Regions from separate parts of the Homo sapiens genome. Here regions 1 and 3 are each linked to region 2. Evidence: promoter capture Hi-C in 16 types of primary human blood cells and fetal thymus (Javierre and others, 2016). All regions are on one chromosome and are shown on one strand. The core of a region is centred on a gene start or on the middle of the fragment in contact, and the rest is flanking DNA. Distances in the headings are between cores, read along the strand shown. Region 1 has its middle 6.6 kb from the start of VPS18. Region 2 holds the start of RMDN3 (regulator of microtubule dynamics 3). Region 3 has its middle 43 kb from the start of CCDC32.

What was found. The method cuts DNA at HindIII sites, captures the fragments that hold promoters and counts their contacts. A CHiCAGO score of 5 or more calls a contact.
Region 1: a contact is called between a fragment that was not itself captured here and the fragment with the promoter of RMDN3 in region 2, in 1 of 17 cell types (endothelial precursors). The highest score is 6.4, in endothelial precursors.
Region 3: a fragment that was not itself captured here is called in contact with the fragment with the promoter of RMDN3 in region 2 in 1 of 17 cell types (naive B cells); the score reaches 5.0 in naive B cells.

What each region holds. Positions count from the first base shown.
Region 1 is chr15:40,886,518-40,889,217 of GRCh38, reverse strand. No RefSeq gene overlaps it. Among named protein-coding and RNA genes, the nearest start is that of VPS18, 6.6 kb to the left of the region's middle. The HindIII fragment of the contact is 3,310 bases long and covers 1-2,700 here.
Region 2 is chr15:40,753,905-40,756,604 of GRCh38, reverse strand. RMDN3 (regulator of microtubule dynamics 3) reads left to right here and starts at 1,351. Exons shown (of 13, transcript NM_018145.3): 1 at 1,351-1,522; 2 at 1,815-2,008. The coding sequence starts at 1,822. RefSeq lists enhancers at 891-1,000, 1,091-1,210, 1,421-1,630 and a silencer at 1,746-1,960. The HindIII fragment of the contact is 1,997 bases long and covers 141-2,137 here.
Region 3 is chr15:40,520,573-40,523,272 of GRCh38, reverse strand. It overlaps a transcript of CCDC32 not described here. Among named protein-coding and RNA genes, the nearest start is that of CCDC32, 43 kb to the left of the region's middle. The HindIII fragment of the contact is 7,648 bases long and covers 1-2,700 here.

The sequences.
Region 1 (2,700 bases), core at 191-2,690, 130 kb before region 2:
TTCTCAAATGTAGTGTTTTTTTTTCACCCCTTTCCTATTTATTTATATCAGTAGAGAATTGTGGACATTTTTTTCTTTTTTCCCTTTTTATTTATTTATTTATTTATTCTTTTTTTGAGACTGAGTCTCACTCTGTTGGCCAGGCTGGAGTGCAGTGGTGCAATCTCAGCTCACAGCAACCCCCACCTCCTGGGTTCAAGCAATTCTCCTGTCTCAGCCTCCCAAGTAGCTGGGAATACAGGCGCGTGCCATCACGCCTGACTAATTTTTGTATTTTTAGTAGAGACGGGGTTTCACCATGTTGGCCAGGCTGGTCTCGAACTCCTGACCTCAAGTGATCCACTCACCTCGGCCTCCCAAAGTACTGGGTTTACAGGCATGAGCCACCGCGCCAGGTCTATTTTTATTTATTTATTTTTAACTTCCAGAACCCACCAATACTACTTTATATTATTACTCAGATTGTTCCTGTTTGGGCCACTAGAGTCTCTCTTTTTTATTTTATTTTATTTATTATTATTATTTTTTGAGACGGAGTCTGGCTCTGTCACCAGGCTGGAGTGCAGTGGCGCAATCTTGGCTCACTGCAACCTCTGCCTCCCTGGTTCAAGTAATTCTCCTGCCTGAGCCTCCTGAGTAGCTGGGACTACAAGGGCGCACCACCACGCCCAGCTAATTTTTGTATTTTTAGTAGAGACGGGTTTCACCATGTTGGCCAGGATGGTCTCGATCTCCTGACCTTGTGATCTGCCCGCCTCGGCCTCCCAAAGTGCTGGGATTATGGGCATCAGCCACTGTGCCCTGCCGGAGGCTTTTTCATTGATGCCTGTGTCCATTTGAAGTACAGCAGTTCCCCCTTATCTGTAGTTTTGCTTTCTGGGCTTTCAGTTGCCTGCAGTCAATAGCAGTCTGAAATAGGTGTGGATAATAGAATAATATATTTTGAGAGAGTGAGAACACATTCACCTAACTTTTATTTATTTATTTATTTTTGAGATGGAGTCTTGATCTGTTGCCCAGGCTAGAGTGCTATGGTGCAATCTCGGCTCACTGCAACCTCCACTTCCTGGGTTCAAGCAATTCTCCTGCCTCTGCCTCCCGAGTAGCTGGGACTACAGGCACCCACCACCATGCCTGGCTAATTTTAGTATTTTTAGTAGAGACGGGGTCTCACCATGTTGGCCAGGCTGGTCTCCAACTCATGACCTCAGGTGATCTGCCCACCTCAGCCTCCCAAAGTGTTGGGATTATAGGTGTGAGCCACCGCACCCAGCCTCACATAACTTGTTTGTTTTTTTTTTTTTTGAGACGGAGTTTCACTCTTGTTGCCCAGGCTGGAGTGCAATGGCGCTATCTCGGCTCACCACAACCTCCGCCTCCCGGGTTCAAGTGATTCTTCTGCCTCAGCCTCCCGAGTAACTGGGATTACAGGCATGTGCCACCATGCCCAGCTAATTTTGTATTTTTAAAAGTAGAGACAGGGTTTCTCCATGTTGGTCAGGCTGGTCTCGAACTCCCGACCTCAGGTGATCTGCCTGCCTTGGCCTCCCAAAGTGCTGGGATTACAGGCATGAGCCACCTCATCTGGCCTACATAGCTTTTATTACAGTCTGTTGTTATAACTGTCCTATATTATTATTGTTGTTAATCTCACAGTGGGCCTAATTTATAAATTAAATTTTATCACAGGTTATGTATAGGGAAAAACAGTCGTCATGTCTCCTTGGACTGCTCTTGACTGGCAGTTTTTAAGTTTTTCAGATATTCCTTGTTTTTGATTACCTTGATAATTTTGAGTACTAGGCAAGTATTTTGTTGAATGCTCTCTGTTGGAATTCATTTAATTTTTTTTCATGTTTAGACTAGGGCTATTTATGGTTTGGGGAGATAAAGAACCATTATCAACACCTCTCTATTATATCGAGGATACACACTATCAACATGATTTATCATCATGACTGATCACCTGACCAAGATAGTGCTTGTCAGGATTCTCCACTACAGAGTTACTCTTTTCCCTCCTTTCCATGCTGTACTGTTTGGAAGGAAGTCACTACACACCTACACACCCTGCACTTAAGGGGTGGGAGTTTTTGCTTCCTTGAGGGTGAAGTATCTGCATAAATCCTTTGGAATTCTGGCATTCTGGCCAGACATGGTGGTGCACACCTGTAGTCCCAGCTACTCGGGAGGCTGAGCCTGAAGAATCGCTAAGCAGAGGTTGCAGTGAGCTGAGATTGTGCCACTGCACTCCAGCCTATGTGACAGAGTGAGCCTGCTGTCTCAAAAAAAAAAAAAAAAAAAAAAAAGACTTACTAAGAAAGAAAACCTAGCAGTCCTTTGCCCCATCCCCAGTTAAATTCCATCTGTTTTCATTGCTCAGAGCCCCAGTCACGCTGATCTAAGGATGTTTCCAAAATGCACCACACCCATTTGGACATTAGAGTGTCTGGTGTTGAGGATTTGCTCCCTCTAGAATGGCTTCCCTGATACTCCTCCCCTTGCCAGGACCAGGCCCCTGTCTTCTCTAATTCTCACCAGACAGGGAAAAGTGTCTCTAGCACACCACTTCCTGGCACAGGGCCTAGCACAGTTGTTGGCTTCCATTAAAATATGCTGAGGAAAGAAGACCCTTGGCCTGTTCAGAACAGCTCTCCACGCCCTTCTTTCTTCTCCTTCATGTTTGGCTCCCTTCTGCAT
Region 2 (2,700 bases), core at 102-2,601:
GGCGGGGGAGGAGGTTGCAGTGAGCCGAGATCGCACCACTGCATTCCAGCATGGGCGAAAAGAGCGAAACTCCGTCTAAAAAAAAAAAAAAAGTATAATGGAGGCAATAGAGCCACAGGAGCAAAGCAGGGTGAAAAGCTTAATTTCACCAAGGTGGTGATCTGGGAAGGTTTCCAGAGGAAATTTTTATTTCCTCCAAAATAAAGTGTATATATATATATATACTTTATATATATATAAATATATTTTTTGTTGTTGTTGTTTTTGTTTATTTGTTTTGAGAGGAGGCCTCACTCTGTTGCCCAAGCTGGAGTACAGTGGCGAGATCTCGGCTCACTGCAACCTCTGCCTCCTGGGTTCAAGCAATTCTCCTGCCTCAGCCTCCCGAGTAGCTGGGATTACAGGCGTGCACCACCATGCCCAGCTAATTTTTGTACTTTTAGTAGAGACGGAGTTTCGCCAGGTTGGCCTGGGTGGCCTCGATATCCTGACTTCTGTTGCCCAGAGTGATCATGGCTCACTGCAGCCTCGACGACCTGGGCTCAAGTGATCCTCCCATCTCAGCCCCCAGAGTATCTGTGACTACAGTCACGTGCCACCACGGCCGGCCTCCTGTATTCTTATATGTATACAATATCTCACAATTAAAGGGTAAATAAATATAAGATCTAGTCAAGGGTATTGGGAGGACTGGCCTAGATATTTCTTTCACTAAACTAAATTTTAACTCTTAAGAAATGTTCACAATAAAATTGTTATCATAGTCCATAAAATCGGTCTTTTTAGTTGCCACAATTATAAGAAGTTGCATACAATTACAAGAGTAAAACAGAATTATAAGACAGCACGTTAGGTTTAAGATTTATGGCCGGGTGCGGCGGCTCACGCACTTTGGGAGCCCGAGGCGGGCGGATCGCACTTTGAGAGACCAGGAGAGCGGGACCCAGTCTCTACAAAATAAAAATAAAAATAAAATGTGGGGAGAGCGTGACGTTTTCCAGGTACAGAGGGGAGGTCCAGGCAGAAGCGCAGGTAGAAAGTGTGAATATGCTGAGCGTATTCCGGGAGCAGCAAGTTAAGCCGGTGTGACCGGAGGGAAATGGAGGCCTGGCTGCCGGACGGTGAGGGTGACTGCGCGAGCGTCCGCCCAAGAAGTCTCCCTGCCTTCCCGCCTTTCCCCTGTCTTGGGCCCCTTCTTGCTTTCCTTTCGCGCTCTGTGCTGACTCCGCCCCTCCGGCGGCGCCCGTGGCCCCGCCCCTGAGGGAAACAGACAAGGGGCGGGGCCGGCGCGGTCATCTCTCTGCGCCTTCCCGCAGGGCGCCGAGCACCTGGCGCCGCCTGCCTGACGTCACGGTCACTGACAGCGTGAGCCCGCGGCGGCTGCTGCCATGGTGGCTGGCGGCCGGGTAAGGGTCTGAGTGGATCTCCTGCCAGGCCAGAGCGCCTTCGGGGGCCGCGGCGGAAGGCCAGGAGTTTGCAGCCAGGGCGCCGGGTTTGTGGTCTGCAGTGTCGTGAGGCTGAGGTGGGGGTTGAAGGCCCAGAAGCCGGACTCTGTGACCCGGGTCGGGGGGTGTACTGGAGGGGCGGCTACGTCCAGGCTGGGTGAGAAGAGAGGCAGTGGGGCCCAGGAGGCTGGAGGAAGCCTTAGGGTTCAGACTGGGGTGCACGTAGTCGAGAGCTCAGGGTTTGGGCAAGGGGATACCTGCCGGGGTTCAGCCTTGAGGGTGGGTTTACCGGGTTCACGAATCTCTCTCTCTCCTTACCCCCGCCCGCCCGCCCGCCTGCCTGCTCCCGGTGACTTCTGCTGGCCGCAGGTGCAGCATGTCTAGACTGGGAGCCCTGGGTGGTGCCCGTGCCGGGCTGGGACTGTTGCTGGGTACCGCCGCCGGCCTTGGATTCCTGTGCCTCCTTTACAGCCAGCGATGGAAACGGACCCAGCGTCATGGCCGCAGCCAGAGCCTGCCCAACTCCCTGGACTATACGCAGACTTCAGATCCCGGACGCCACGGTAGGAGCCCGTCTCCTGAGACCGCGGTCACTGCAGACTAATGGGCCTGAGGTCTGGGCTGCTTTCGGTGGAGACTGTGGGACAGGGTAACGGAGAGAAGTGCTTTAGGGTTTCACTTTTTTGGAAGCTTGTTGAAAAAGCAGTCGTCGGGCTGGGCGCGGTGGCTCACGCCTGTAATCCCAGCACTTTGGGAGGCCGAGGCGGGCGGATCACCTGAGGTCAGGAGTTCAAGACCAGCCTGGCCAACGTTCAACCAGATGTCAACATGGTGAAACCCCATCTCTACTAAAAATACAAAAATTAGCCGGGCGTGGTGGCGCGGCCTGTAGTCCCAGCTACTGGGGAGGCTGAGGCACGAGAATCGCTTGAACCTGGTAGGCGGAGGCCGCAGTGAGCTGAGGTTGCGCCACTGCACTCCAGCCTGGGTGACAGAGTGGGACTCTGTCTCAAAAAAAAAAAAAAAAAAAAAGCAGTCGTGGTTTTCTCTACTCTTTCGCCTGTACTCACAAGAAAGTATATTTCAAAAAGACTGTTTAACTTTCACTTTTAGTTCTGGCCACAATAGTGCTATGTGGGTATTAAAGGCACTTGCTTAGTGTTGGGTGAGGTGTGTAATAAGTAGAGGAAGAGTCCAAAAGAGGGCAAAAAGAATAATCTTGTAGGGATTAAAAGTCTTGAGGCTTATGTATTAA
Region 3 (2,700 bases), core at 120-2,619, 230 kb after region 2:
TCAGCCTCCCAAAGTGCTGGGATTACAGGCATGAGCCACCGCGCCCAGCGCTTATCCACCTTTTCTTGTAACAGATAACCAGCAGCTGGCCAGGTACAGTGGCTCACTCTTGTAATCCCAGCACTTTGGGAGGCTGAGGTGGGTGGATCACTTAGTAGAGATGAGGTTTCACTATGTTGGCCAGGCTAGTCTCAAACTCCTGACCTTAGGTAAGTTCAGGAGTTGAAGACCAGCCTGACTAACATGGCGAAAACACACTCTCTACTAAAAATACAAAAATTAGCCAGGCGTGGTGGCATACTCCTATAATCCCCACTACTCGGGAGGTTGAGGCGGGAGAATCGCTTGAACCCTGGAGACCGAAGTTGCAGTGAGTGAGACTGCGCCACTGCCCTTCAGTCTGGGCAACAAGAGCGAAATAGTTTCAAAAAAAAAAAAAAAAAAGAAAGGAAAACCAGAAACCTGTGGCAGCACCTCTGAGTTATGCTGAGCAACTGTCCGTACTGCAAAGGTAGGGACTGTCCTCCTCAGGCTTTGCTGAGTGACATCTACATGCTTAATGGGCTTTACTCAAGTTACCCAAGTGTTTGAGAATAAACTAGAACCATCTGATATTTAAGCTCCCTGCCCAGTAACATTTAAAAAGCAGATGTACACCTAAATTAAAGGAAAGACGTTCTATGTTCATTGATCAGAAGACTTAACATGGTTAAGATGCCAGTTTTCCCCAAAATGATCTACAGATTCATTGCAATCTACAGCAAAATCACAGCTGGATTTTTTGGTAGAAATTGACAAGCTGATTCTAAAATTCATATAGAAATTCCAGGAATCCAGAATAGCCAAAACAGTCTTGAAAAAGAAGAACAAAGTTGGAGGGCTCACACTTCCTAATTTCAAAACTTCCTATAAAACCGTGGTAATCAAGACAGTGTGGTACTGCCATAAGGATAGACATAAAGCAATAGAATAGAATTGTGAGTCCAGAAGTATACCCTTTCATTTATGATTAATTGATTTTCAACAAGAGTGTCAAGACAATTGAATGGAGAAAAAAATAGTATTTTTAACAAATGGTGTTGGGACAACTGGATATACAACTGCAAAGGAATGAAATTGGACCCCTATCTGACACCCTACATGCCACATATTTCTTTTTTTCTCTTTTTTTAAATAATCTGCATTACTTTGGAGAAACCATATATTTCTTAGAAGAAATATAGGAAGAAAATATAGGAATAATATTTGTGACCTTGGTATGGGCCAAAGCACAAGTGACAAAAGAAAAAAATAGATAAACTGGACTTTATCACAATTATAAATTTTGGTGCTTCAAAGAACACCAATAGGAAGGTGAAAAGACAATTCACAGAATGGCATAAAATATCTGCAAATCAGATATCTGATAAGGGACTGCTGTCTAGAATTTATGAAGAACTTTAACAACTCAATCATAAAATGACAAATAACCCAATTAAACAATGGGCAAAGGATCTGAATAGACATAGCTCCAAAGAAGATACAGAAATGGCCACTAGCCATCATGGAAAGGCAAATCAAAACTACAATGAGATACCACTTAACACTCATTAGGATGGCTATTATCAAAAAGATAGACAATAACAAGAGTCTGCGAGGATGTAGAGAAACTGGAACCCTCATACATTGTTAGTGGGAACGTACAGTGGTGCATCCACTTTGGAAAACAGTCATATGATGCAGCAATTTCACTCCTAGGTATATCCCACACAAAAACGTGTATATGAATATTCATAGCAGCATTATTCATAGTAGCCCAAAGTGGAAATAACCCAAATATCCATCCATTGATGGATGGATAAATAAAATTCCATACAATGGAATATTATTTGGCACTACAAAGGAATGAAGTACTGATACATGCTACAACGTGGATGAACCTTGAAAACGTTATGCCAAGTGAGAAAAGTGTCACAAAAGACACGCGTTGTATAATCCCATCTATATGCAATGTCTAGAATATGCAAATATATAGGGGAAATGAGGAGTGACTGCTAATGGATATAGGGTTTCTTTTTCGGGGGTGATGAAAATACAGTTGACTCTTGAACAACACAGGTTTGAACTGCACTGGTCCACTGATAGACAAAGTTTCTTCTGACTGTGCCACCCCAAGACAGCAAGACCAACCCGTTTTCCTCCTCCTCCTCAGCCTACTCGACGCGAAGATGACAAGGATGAAGATCTTTATGATGATCCACTTCCACTTAATGAATAGTAAACATAGTTTTTTCTTTCTTATGAGTTTCCTGATAGCATTCCTTTTCTCTAGCTTACTTTATTGTAAGAGTATAATACATATAGCAGACAAAATATGCGTTAATCAACTGTTTATGTTATCACTAAGGCTTCAGGTAAACAGAAGGCTATTAGTAGTTAAGCTCTGGGGGAGTCAAAAGTTATACATGGATTTTTAGCTGCAGGGAGGCTGGCACCCCTAACCTCCACGTTGTTCAAGATTCAATTATATTCTAAAATTTATTCTGGTGATGTTGCAGAATTCTGTGAATATACTAAAAAATACTGAATTTTACACTTTAAACAATTTCATGAATTATGAAAAAGATTGTGCAAATGTCCACTTTTATAAACCATTGAAAATTTTCTTAATTGGAAAATGATTTTATAAATAAAGTTGCATTATTGCTTTGTAGACGAAGT